3 separate regions of the Homo sapiens genome follow, and regions 2 and 3 are each linked to region 1. Evidence: promoter capture Hi-C in 16 types of primary human blood cells and fetal thymus (Javierre and others, 2016). All regions are on one chromosome and are shown on one strand. Each heading gives the region's core, a stretch centred on a gene start or on the middle of the fragment in contact. The rest is flanking DNA. Distances are from core to core; before and after follow the strand shown.

What was found. The method cuts DNA at HindIII sites, captures the fragments that hold promoters and counts their contacts. A CHiCAGO score of 5 or more calls a contact.
Region 2: a fragment that was not itself captured here is called in contact with the fragment with the promoter of GFPT1 in region 1 in 1 of 17 cell types (naive B cells); the score reaches 6.1 in naive B cells.
Region 3: a fragment that was not itself captured here is called in contact with the fragment with the promoter of GFPT1 in region 1 in 1 of 17 cell types (total B cells); the score reaches 5.2 in total B cells.

The regions. Positions count from the first base shown.
Region 1 is chr2:69,385,390-69,389,110 of GRCh38, forward strand. GFPT1 (glutamine--fructose-6-phosphate transaminase 1) reads right to left here and starts at 1,838. Exons shown (of 20, transcript NM_001244710.2): 1 at 1,676-1,838. The coding sequence starts at 1,682. RefSeq lists silencers at 1,418-2,087, 2,148-2,257 and an enhancer at 1,630-2,189. The HindIII fragment of the contact is 6,543 bases long and covers 1-3,721 here.
Region 2 is chr2:69,695,543-69,699,587 of GRCh38, forward strand. It overlaps a transcript of ANXA4 not described here. Among named protein-coding and RNA genes, the nearest start is that of ANXA4, 45 kb to the right of the region's middle. The HindIII fragment of the contact is 160 bases long and covers 2,068-2,227 here.
Region 3 is chr2:69,839,793-69,843,582 of GRCh38, forward strand. It overlaps GMCL1 (germ cell-less 1, spermatogenesis associated), which reads left to right. Exons shown (of 14, transcript NM_178439.5): 4 at 1,150-1,247; 5 at 3,357-3,469. Among named protein-coding and RNA genes, the nearest start is that of GMCL1, 12 kb to the left of the region's middle. The HindIII fragment of the contact is 1,043 bases long and covers 1,327-2,369 here.

The DNA of each region.
Region 1 (3,721 bases), core at 588-3,087:
TAATTTTGTATTTTTAGTAGACATGGAGTTTCACCACGTTGGCCAGGCTAGTCTTGAACTCCTGAGCTCAGGTGATCCACCTGCCTCGGCCTCCCAAAGTGCTGAGATTATAGGCGGGAGCCACCACGCCCAGCGCTGATTTATTTATTTATTTATTTTTTTTTCAGTAAGTACTTTGACTACGTTTTTTTCTTGGAACATGATGAAATGACCTGCAACCAGAATGTTGAGTACTTGATGAGGCACACCCCTCATCATTCAGGAACAGTTAACTACCAAATGAAGCACACTGGAGATTGACCAGTTTGCAAATTCACTACTTCACAGCTCCAAACTAAATGCAAAACCATTCTACTAAGTAGACACTGCAAAAGTCTGATTCTGAAGTCAGCTCTACTCTAATAATTTCAGTAAGCTATTTATAGGTGTTTCTGTTTTTATGTGGGTTTTTTTTTAATCTACTCTAAATTTAAACCTGCTCCTCATTTTCAGAAGCTGAAATGAGCATAAAGTTAAATACAGGAAATATATACACTAACGAGTACAATCCACCTCCTGTTCAGTTCCTTCGTGTAAAAGGCTGCAAATAAGAAGTCTCCCAGAGAGTTTTCAATTCTCTTACAATGGTACTTCCCTTTAAAAAAAAAAAAAAAAAGTGTACTTTCTTCCAGGGATAAAGTCGGTTGTAAATTTCAATAAGAAAGGTAAGAATACAATTATTTTTACTGGCAATAGCCAAATTAACACCAATTTTAGAAGATATCAGTCATGTCAGACACGATTCTCAAAGTCTCTTTCACTAACACTTAGGTCATAATAAACGACTCTCAAAACATGGAATAAAAGGGCCTAACCTTAATTTTTTAAGGCTCTAGGAAAGATATTTGCTCAACTTTCCATAGCTAGTATTTTTAATGGATGCACATGCAAGGGATAAATGATATTTTTCATAGTTGGTATTCTAAAGGGGTATACATCCAAGGTATAACTGATATTTTTCAGAGCTGGCATTTTTAATGGGTGCACACGCAAATGATAAATTATGTATAACCTATCGCCACAGACATTTGAAGGCCTCTTCCACCAGAGGATCAGGTCTAAGCCCATGAACCAAGTTATTGATTAGCAATGGTTTCTGTTGAGACAAGGGATGGCAGGAAGTATCACGTTTAATGGCACTACCGTGGCTCTAGCTAGGGTCTGTTTTCTATTGGGCCTCCCCAGAAACAAGTAAAATATTTTTTTAAAGATTTTTAGAAAAATGCAAGGTAAGTTCAAGAGACCTCGCCCGAGGTTCCACAGGTTTCCTCACTCACCTGGTGGGCCCTTTTGAAGGCAACCCCCTCCACACCTCAATTCCCTCAGCTCTCTCCTCCTTTTTCAATAAAGGCGTTTCTCTCCCCTTTCGGTTCCTTCTCCGCGCCAAGGCGCCCGCTAGCCCCCGGCAAAGGGGGCCCGCCTTCCTCTCAGGTGCCTTTCTCCCGGCCGCCACCCCCTCTCCCGCCCGTGGATGCCGGCCCCCGCCCCCGCAGCCACCACTGGGCGCCCCTTGCCCATCACCCAGACTTCGCACCCTCCACACTCCCGCTTCCGCCCGTCGCCTTGGGCCTTAGCGGCACCCGCACCGCACCCCAGCGCCACCCGGCAACACGCCCCCCGCTCCCGGCCCCCTTACCACACATGATGCCGGAGACACGGCCCGCGAGGCCAGGGGCGAGTGGCTGGCGGGATCGGGGGTGCACACACGAGCTTCGGTGGGCAATCTGCGGGCTCGGGGGCCGGGGTGGCGCCGACACGACTCCCTCGGGGATGCGACGGCCAAGGCAACGACAGCCTTCTCCGCCTCCCGGGCTCCGCCAGCAACCGCCGCCGGGCCCCGCCCCTCGGCGCGCAGCGCGCCGCCGCCCGTAGGCTCCATTGAACCGCTCACGCGCCGCTCACGCGCAAGTCCCGCCTCCCAGCGCTGCCCCGCCCCCCGAGCCCACGCAGGCGCTGGACTGCTGGCGGCGGCGACGTGGCAGTGGCTCGTGGCCGCGTCCGCCTGGAGTTCCTGGAGACGCCCGCCCCGGGGCGAGCCGCGGGAGGGACCGAGCCGAGAGGGAGGGAGAAACTCAGCACCTGGCAGGGAATGACGGAAAGAGAAGGATGGAATTGTTAGCAAAGCAATAGCCCGGGTGCGTGCCCCGTGCAGCCCCAGGCCCCAGGCGCCAGCACTGCACGAAGCGAGGAAAGAGGAGGAAAAAAGCAGGAAGTATGAAAAGGGAATCCTGGGGAACATAAGGCTGAAAAAAATTGCAAAGAATTAGGTTGAGGTGGGAGGAGAGAGATAACAAAATTCTTGACTGTAAAGCCCCAAAGGTCAGCCTCTCTGGTAATAAGCAATTCAATTCCTTGTGTAATATGCTTGGCCCCTAAAAGCCCTCCGCATCCGTTGCCTCCATAACCCTCAGTTTATTGTGGAGGGGTAGAGGAGGAATGTAAGGCTCAACTATCCGACTATGAGCCTGGACGTAAGAAACTGCTGGCCCACCTCCTCCCATGACCCACCTGAGACGGCTAGGAATTCCCTAGCTTTAACAGCCGCGCGTTTGACTTACGAACGATTCATTCTATGAATTAATGCGCCATGTCTGACAAGAGAGACTTGATTAGAGAGGGATGATGTTTCTGAGAATTTATTACCTGGGCATTTGCTTTAAACAGCCTTAAATGGTATCTTTAGTCAAATGTGGAGTAATCAGAACTCTATAATGGCTCTAGAGTAGAGTAGTATCAAAAACGTACATGGCACACAGAATTCCTGGAGTGCTGACTGCTGTTCATGTGTCTGGTCTTAGCCTGCTGACTGCTGTTCATGTGTCTGGTCTTAGCCGTCCTTCCAGCCCTATACACTCCCAACAGGCTCAACAGGTAGTTCCTCAACTGGGCCAAGATTCTCAAATCTTTTGCACACTTTGGTTACTCTGCATAGAATCCCCACCACGTCTCTGTTTAGATGCTACCTCTTCAGGAAAGCCTTTTTTATCCCCCCTAGACAGACTTGGAGACATGCATTAACCTCTTACTCTTTGAGCTACTCACTGTAAAGAAATATTCTTTGATATTTTATGATTTTCTGTATTTTCCCACTGGGCTGTAAGTTTCTTGAAGCTAGAACTAGATTTTACATACCCAACACTTTTAGACCACAGCACAAAGTAAAAGATCAAATTTATTTTGGAATGAGTGAAAAAAAGTCCTATTTTCTTAGCGGAATTAACCTTCTATGGCTGGTTATATGATTAAGTGAGCATAAGGCTTTCAGTTCTTCTTACGGGGAAAAGTGCCTTTTTTCACTTGCCTCAGAGAAGCTGAAAAATGTCACATTTAACTAAGCAGAGTATTTCTCACCTAAAAGCCCTTTTGATATTTCAATCCCTTAAACAGGTCCCTGGATCACCCAGAGCAAAGTTTAAAAAAAAAAAAAACAGTGAGCTTTTTGGTAATAATACATTTCTTAATTCAAGAAACAAAAGACTGTGGATATACATCTAGCCTCAGAACCCTCATCTAAGGCTCTGGTTAGAACTCCGTTGTATTACCTAAAAGCCAAGGTATGGTTCCAATGCTTAAGCAACATCTTTGTGCACTGGCAGCAAACCTGTCAATGCCACAAAGAAAATGTCAGCAGTACTACCAGAGTTCTCATGCTCCAACTATAGTAATCTATTTAACCCTTTGC
Region 2 (4,045 bases), core at 898-3,397, 310 kb after region 1:
GCTCTTCTTGACAGTGATTGAATGGAAGCAACGAAGTGGAGGAGAAACCACGCTGGGGAGAGCTGGCATCCCCTTGGGAGAAGCCTTTCCAACAGTGGACTGAAAGCATGAGTTACCTTACCCTGTAAGATTAATCTCCAACCAAACAGCAATCTTACCTCTGAGATACAGGCATACCTCAGAGTTTATGTGGGTTTCAATCCCAACCACTGCAATAAAGCAAATATTTGGAATAAGTGAGTCACACAGATTTTTTGGTTCCCAGTGCATAGAAAGGTTATGTTTATACTATACTGCAGTCTATGAAGTGTGCAATAGCATTACGTCTTAAAAAAGTATATACCTTAATTTAAAAATACTTTTTTGCTAAAAAAAAATGTTAACAGTCATCTGAGCCTTTAGTGAGTTGAAATCTTTTTGCTAGTGGAGGATCTCATCTCAACACTGGTGACTGCTGACTGATCAGGGTGGTGGTTGCTGAAGGTTGGGTGGCTGTGGCAATTTCTTAAAATAATACAATGAAATTTGCCGCATTTATTGACTCTTCCTCTCACAAAAGATTTCTCTGTATTGTGAGATGCTGTTTGATAGCATTTTGCCCACAGGAGAACTCCTTTCAAAATTGGATTCCATCCTCTCAAACCCTTAGTTGATGCTTTATCAACTAAGTTTATGGAACATTCTCAATCGTTTCTTGTCATTTCAACACTGCTCACAGCACCTTCACCAGAAGCAGCTTCCATCTCAAGAAATCACTTTCTTTGCTCATCCACAGAAAGCAATTTCTCATCTGTTCAAGTTTAATCATGAGATTGCAGCAATTCAGTCACATCTCCAGGTACCACTTCTAATTCCAGTTCTCTTGCTATTTTCACCACATCTGCAGTGACTTGCTCCATTGAAGTCTCAGACCCCACAGTCATCCACGAGAGTTAAAATCAGCTTCCTCCAAACTCTGTTGATGTTGATAGTTTGCCCTTCTCTCATGAATCATGAGTATTTATAATAACATCTAAAATGGTGAATCCTTTCCAGAAGGTTTTCAATTTACTTTGCCCAGATCCATCAGAGGAATCACTATCTATGGCAGCTACAGCCTTACAAATGTATTTCTTAAATAACAAGACTTGAAAGTCAAAAATCACTCCTTGATCCATGGGCTACAGAATGGATGTTGTGTTAGCAGGCATGAAAACAACATTCAGCTCCTTGTACATCTCCATCAGAGTTCTTGGGTGACTAGGTGCATTGTCAAGAAGCAGTAATATATTAAAAAGGAATCTTTTTTATTTTTTGAGTAGTAAGTCTCAACAGCAGGCTTAAATTATTCAGTAAACCATGCTATAAACAGATGTGCTGTCATCCAGGCTTTGTTGCTCCATTTATACAGCACTGGCAGAGTAGATTTAGCATAATACTTAAGGGTCCTAGGATTTCCAGAATGGTAAATGAGCACCATGTTCAACTTAAAGTCACCAGCTGCATTAGTCCCTAACAAGAGAGTCGCCTGTCCTTTGAAGCTAGGCATTGACTTCTCTCTAGCTACGAAAGTCCTAGATGGCATCTTCTTCTAGTAGAAGGCTGTTTCATCTCCATCGAAAATCTATTGTTCAGTGTAGCCACCTTCATCTATGATCTTAGCTAGATCTTCTGGATAACTTGCTGCAGCTTCTCCATCAGCACTTGCCTCTTCACCTTGCACTTTTATGTTATAGAGATGGCTTCTTGCCTTAAATCTCATGAAGCAACCTCTGCTAGCCTCAGACTTTTGTTCTGCAGCTTCCTTACGTCTCCCAGCCTTCGCAGGATTGAAAAGAGTTTAGTGCCTTGTTCTAGGCTAGGCTTTGGATGAAGGGAATGTTGTTGCTGGTTTGATCTTCTATCCAGCTCACTGAAACTTTCTCCGTATCAATGCTGTTTCGCTTTCTTATCATACTTGTGTTCACTGGAGTAGCACTTTTAATTTCCTTCAAGAATTTTTCCTTTGCATTCACAACTTGGCTATCTGTTTGGCACAAGAAGCCTAGCTTTTGGCCTGTCTCAGCTTTTGACACACCTTGCTTACTAAGCTTAATCATTTCTAGCTTCGGATTCAAAAATGAGAGATGCACATGATTCTTCCTTTCACTTGAACACTGAGAGGCCATCGTAGGGTTGTTAATTGGCCTAATGTCAATATTGTTGTGTCTGAGCAGTGGAGCAGTCAGTATATAACATTTATTAATTAAGCTTGCTATTCTGTATGGGCACAGTTTATGGTGCCCTAAACATTAACAATGGTAACATCAAAGATACCTGGGGCCAGGTGTGGTGGCTCAGGGACTGGGCAAAGTGGTTCATTCCTATAACCTGAGCACTTTGAAAGGCTGAGATGGGAGGATCTCTTAAGCCCAGGAGTTTGAGGCTAGCCTGGGCAACACAGTGAGACCCCATCTCAAAAAAAAAAAAAAAAAAAGAATACTATAGATTGAGTGGTTTAAAAACAACAGAAATTTATTTCTCACAGATCTGGAGGCCGAGAAGTCCAGGATCAAGGCACTGGCAGATTCAGAGTCTGATGTGGCCTGCTTTCTGGTTCATAGTTGTTATCACCTTGCTCTGTCCTCACATGACTGAAGGAGCAAGGAAGCTCTTCTGAGTCTCTCTCATACGAGCACTAATCTCATTCATGAGGGTTCTGCTCATTCATGAATTTCCTCCCAAAGGTTCCGCCTCCTAATACCATCACCTTGAGGATTGGGATTTTAACCTATGAATTTTGCGGGACACAAACATTCAGTCTATAGCAGATGGAAGATGAAGCCCAGCTTTCTAGGAAGCCCCCACCCGCAGAAATTTATGGAGCTAAAAAACTGCCCTTCAACTCCCTCCATTTCCTTGGCTGGCCTCTTCCCCCGACATCTCCCTGTTGTTTCTCCACAGGGAGCTTTTATTCATTGAGAAGGCCAGAACAGAGTGGGGACAGCCATGAGGTGCAGATAGTGGGAGCCTAGGGCGGCAGAGAAGGATGACCAGAGGGCCTGGGGGCAGGAGTGTCACCTATGGAAGGAATGGATCCTGGGGACAAGCTGCGTTGTCGGCTCTGACTAGGTGGGGCGGGGCAGGACTGTGCGATGGGCAAGTGTGAACTGTTACTGTCTCCATTATGCAGATGAAGGAACTGAGACTCGATCATGAGGGGGATTCAATTCTGGTCCTTGTCACTCTGAGGCTTGTGTCCTTTCTGCGCTACCAAGCTTTGTCTCTGCTTCTCAAGATGGTGATACAACTACTAATTCATAAAGCTCTGCAAGAGGGTGGTGGTTTTGAGTTGTAATTTCAATGAAGAGGGAGAAGAAGTAGAAAGAAACTAGGTTTATTTTTATGCTTTGGAATATTGATTGAAAGAATCAAAAGGATATAAGAGGATAAGGCAGGAAAAGTGGAACAAGAGCTAAACAACAAAGCCTGGAAAATAGACTATACTAATATCTTAAAAAGCTGATGGATTGAAGGAAAGATTCGGGTGAGGGGGGACAACTGAAGATATGAATCATGGGTAAAGAGGAGGATGTGATGGTCTTTGCCAAGCACCAGCACTGGCAGTGGGAGTGTGTGGGGTGGGGTCTAGCGCTCATGTTCATGACATAGAGGAGGACCTGGGCCTAGAGCCACTCAGTAAACTGGTGGCAGAGCCAGGGTAAACTTTGGTCTCCTGGCCCCACCTTCCAGGGCTCTTTTCTCTATTTTGTGCACTCAGAGAAGGGAGTTAAAAGATCAAAGATGTGGAAAGCACATGTGAAAAGTTAGAGGACACCCACATAGTAAGAAACTTAGGGCCAGGTGTGGTGGCTCATGTCTGTAATCCCAGCACTTTGGAGACTGAGGTGGGAGGATCACTTGAGCCCAGGAGTTCAAGACCAGCCCTGGCTACATAGTGAGACCTCATTCTATGAGAAAATGAGAAATAAATAAGCCAGGCGTGGTGGTGTGAACCCGTAGTCTCAGCTACTCAGGAGACTGAGGAGGGAGGATTCCTTGAGCCCAGGCTGCAGTGAGCTATGAT
Region 3 (3,790 bases), core at 598-3,097, 450 kb after region 1:
TGGGATATGGAAGATGTAGGATGGAGGAAGGAAAAGTATGACCATTTTTTTTTTTAATTACATAGAAAATCTGATAAATAATACTGATTATTCCCTATGTATGAAGATGTTTTCTGGGAACAATAAATAAAAATATTGTTTTAGAGCTAAAAGAATCCTTAGTTGAGGAAGCTGAGGCTCAGAGGAGTTAAGGGACTTATTTTGGATCTCAGAGCAGTTTAGTGAGCCTGTGTCAGACTACAGCTCTCCTCATTCCCATTCCAGTGCTCTTGCTGCTCCCCTCATTGGTGGTCCACATGGAAGTACCTGGTGCGATACAAAGGCAAAGAAATACTTTAGTTAAGAATATTTACAGCCTGTAATCCCAGCACGTTGGGAGGCCAAGGTGGGTGGATCACAAGGTCAGGAGATCGAGACCATCCTGGCTAACATGGTGAACCCCATCTCTACTTAAAAAAATACAAAAAATTAGCCAAGCGTGGTGGCAGGCACCTGTAGTCCCAGCTATTTGGGAGGCTGAGGCAGGAGAATGGCGTGAACCCGGGAGGCAGAGCTTGCAGTGAGCCGAGATCGCGCCACTGCACTCCAGCCTGGGCGACAGAGCGAGACTCCATCTCAAAAAAAAAAAAAAGAATATTTACAAAGCAAACCATGTGGGACATTCATAACAGTGGCAGTGGAGGAAGGATGAACAGGCATAGATCACTGTGGGGGCTGGGAATGAGTGTGGCATGGACAGGACTCAGGAGCTGTACCACATTTCTCAGTGGTGGAGTGCTGAAAGCAGCCGGGTTAAGATTATCTTTGAGTCTGCGTATTTGTACTTAACGATTGGTCTACTGAGGAGTATCTTATACAACTTCTTGCAAGGCATCTTGGTTGTGACCACTGATGTCAAGATTACATGTTAGAAGAATGCAGCTAGATTTGGTAGAATAAACAGAAATTTATAACCTTGTTATTAAATTAACAGTGTCAACCAGTAACCATTACTAGCGTTTTAATTAGAGATACTTCTGTTATCCTTTTATGTGCATGCCACATTTAGACGGATGTCTTTGTGTGTGAAGACAGTCGTTGTTGTTATTTGTATAACACTTGTAATAGATATAAATATTATTTCATCCTACATGTGTACCTTGCTTTCAGCACTGCAGGTTGCATTTGGTTCACTGTATCGAGATGATGTCTTGATAAAGCCCAGTCGAGTTGTTGCCATTTTGGCAGCAGCTTGTTTGCTGCAGTTGGTAAGTATGCACGTTATTCGAAGAAAGGTTCAGAATAATAATCTTTGTCTCAAAGTGTGTACTCCAAAAACAAAAATAAAGCTTAGCTTTTTTGGAGTTTTTAAATAAAAATGAAATGTATAAATATGACATTTATTATAAATCATTTAAAATGCCTAACCAAAAGCAATTTATTACAACCGAGGGAGTCATGATGTCTGCATAAAATGAATGCAGGCCATTTCTGTGTAGATATCTTAGTATGACTATAATGTGGAAAAAACGTACTTGTCTAAGGTCATTTACAGATTTCATTAATGACTTGACTATTAAGCAGATGGCTTATGATTACCAATTAATTTCATTCATGGGTTCAAATAAACATGCATGCCTACTATTTAAATTTCTCTTAATTTTGAAAGAATTGTGTATAAATCACATATATGTATTTTAATCTACTGGCAGAATGACAGATTTGTTCATTGAAGAGAAGTGTGTTGAGCACTGTGTCAAACTAGACACAGAAAGCCAAAGGTAACTTAAGACGTAATCCTTACTTTCAAAAAGTTCACAACATAGTATGTATGTGTGGAGAGGGGAGGGAGGGTTGATATACAAACCCAAAGGTAAAGTAAGAGCTGTTCAATATTATAGGTATGATAATAAACATCCTGTAGCATTTAGTGAATGGATAAAGAAGGGAGTGGTCAGTTCATCCTGGTGGTGTCACATACGAAAGTTACATTTTCACACAGAGTCTTGAAAGTGTGTTTGTATTGCAAAGTAAGAAGAGGGGAAGGAAGAGCATTTCAGACAGAGAGAACAGAGTAAACTAAGATCTAGTGATGTGAAATAATGGAGGATTCAAGACTCTAACAGAAACATGGCTCCCACATAAACATAAGAAGGATTGCAGAAGAGGGGGGCAGAAGCCAGATCATGAAAATACATCTATACATTGCTAAGAAGTTTAGCATACACAGTACCTTTGGAATATTTTAATCAGGGGAAAGACGAAGTTATGTTTTAGAAAGAATACTTCAGTAACAATGTGACAGATGAATTGAAGGAAAGATGAGTACAGCATTAGAGACAAAAACTTGTTGCATTCGTCCAAGGGAGGAAAGTAGGGTAGTAGCAATAAGCTTGGAGGGGAAAAAGTGGATACCAGAGAGATTCAGGGATAATCCACTGGACTTGGTGATAGACTAAATGTTAAGAGGAAAGGGGAGGAGTCTAGAATGATTTCCAGGTAAGTTTAAAATCCTAATGGAGTCAATGTTTTATTTTAATCTTAAAAAATTGTTTACTTTTATGTGGTATTTTTGTACTGATTTATTTGAAGTATTAATAGCTTGCTAAATATCCTTGGTTGAGATCATTTGATTTTCAAAATGTTTTGATCCTTTCAATACTTACTTCCAATAAGTATACTTTATTATCTAACTCTGGTCCTTTTGGTTTTGTTCTAAATTCACCTTCTGCTTACTTTTATGATTTACTAACTCTTTAACTTAATATACCTGCATGATGAATGTATTTCAGAAATTTGAATGAAAAGTAGTATTCTTCCCATATATTAAAGTTAGTTCACTTAAAACCTATATAAACATTTTAGGTTAAAACTTTAATGTTAATCATTTGAAATAATAATATACTTGTTTTAAGTCTATCTCTTAGATATTGTAGTTATTTTAAACTTGATCACTTTCTGCTAATGCATACTGTTAGTTTAGTCCCATCACATGGTTAACTGACTATGTAGACTTCTTAATTTAAAAAGAAATGGCAAAACAGACAAAATGCTGCTAAAGAAATTTGCAAAGGTCTCAGACAGGGGAAGAATAGAAAAGAAAAAGAATAGCAGTATTCATTCTCTACCTTACTACTCCCCCCCACCTTCCATTTTCAAATTCCAAGTATTTAGTTGAATACTTGCTGAACTTTTTTCAGTATTTTTATTGGACTTGTTAAAAAAAAAAAAAAAAACTTAGGTTTGCTGCACTTAATGAGTTTTCTTTCTTTTCTTTCTTCTTTTTTTTTTTCTTTTACTTTTTAATATGTAAAAGCTGTCAGAGCTAATTTTTCCCACGTGAAATGGGCCTTTCCAGTGCTTATTTATATTTACAGGACGGTTTAATACAGCAGTGTGGTGAGACAATGAAGGAAACAGTTAATGTGAAAACTGTATGTGGCTATTACACATCAGCAGGGACCTATGGATTAGATTCTGTAAAGAAAAAGTGAGTTGCCTTTCTTGTTTTTCTTCCTATCCCACTTTTAGGAATTTGGTTGCTTTAGTTTCTTAAGAGAATGTATAGCTATAAGAAAGAAAGAATTAAGGAAAAATAGGATAGGGGGATGGAATTTTATTAAATAAAAAGCCCCTTTTAACTTTTGGACTAATTAGTAAATTCCTCAAAAGTGTCGTCTTTGTAAGTGACCATAGGTGGGTTATATACATGCTTATAAAAACCATGGTCACCTTGGTCGGGTGTGGTGGCTAACACCTGTAATCCCAGTGGTTTGGGAGGCCAAGGCAGAAAGATCACTTGGGCCCAGGA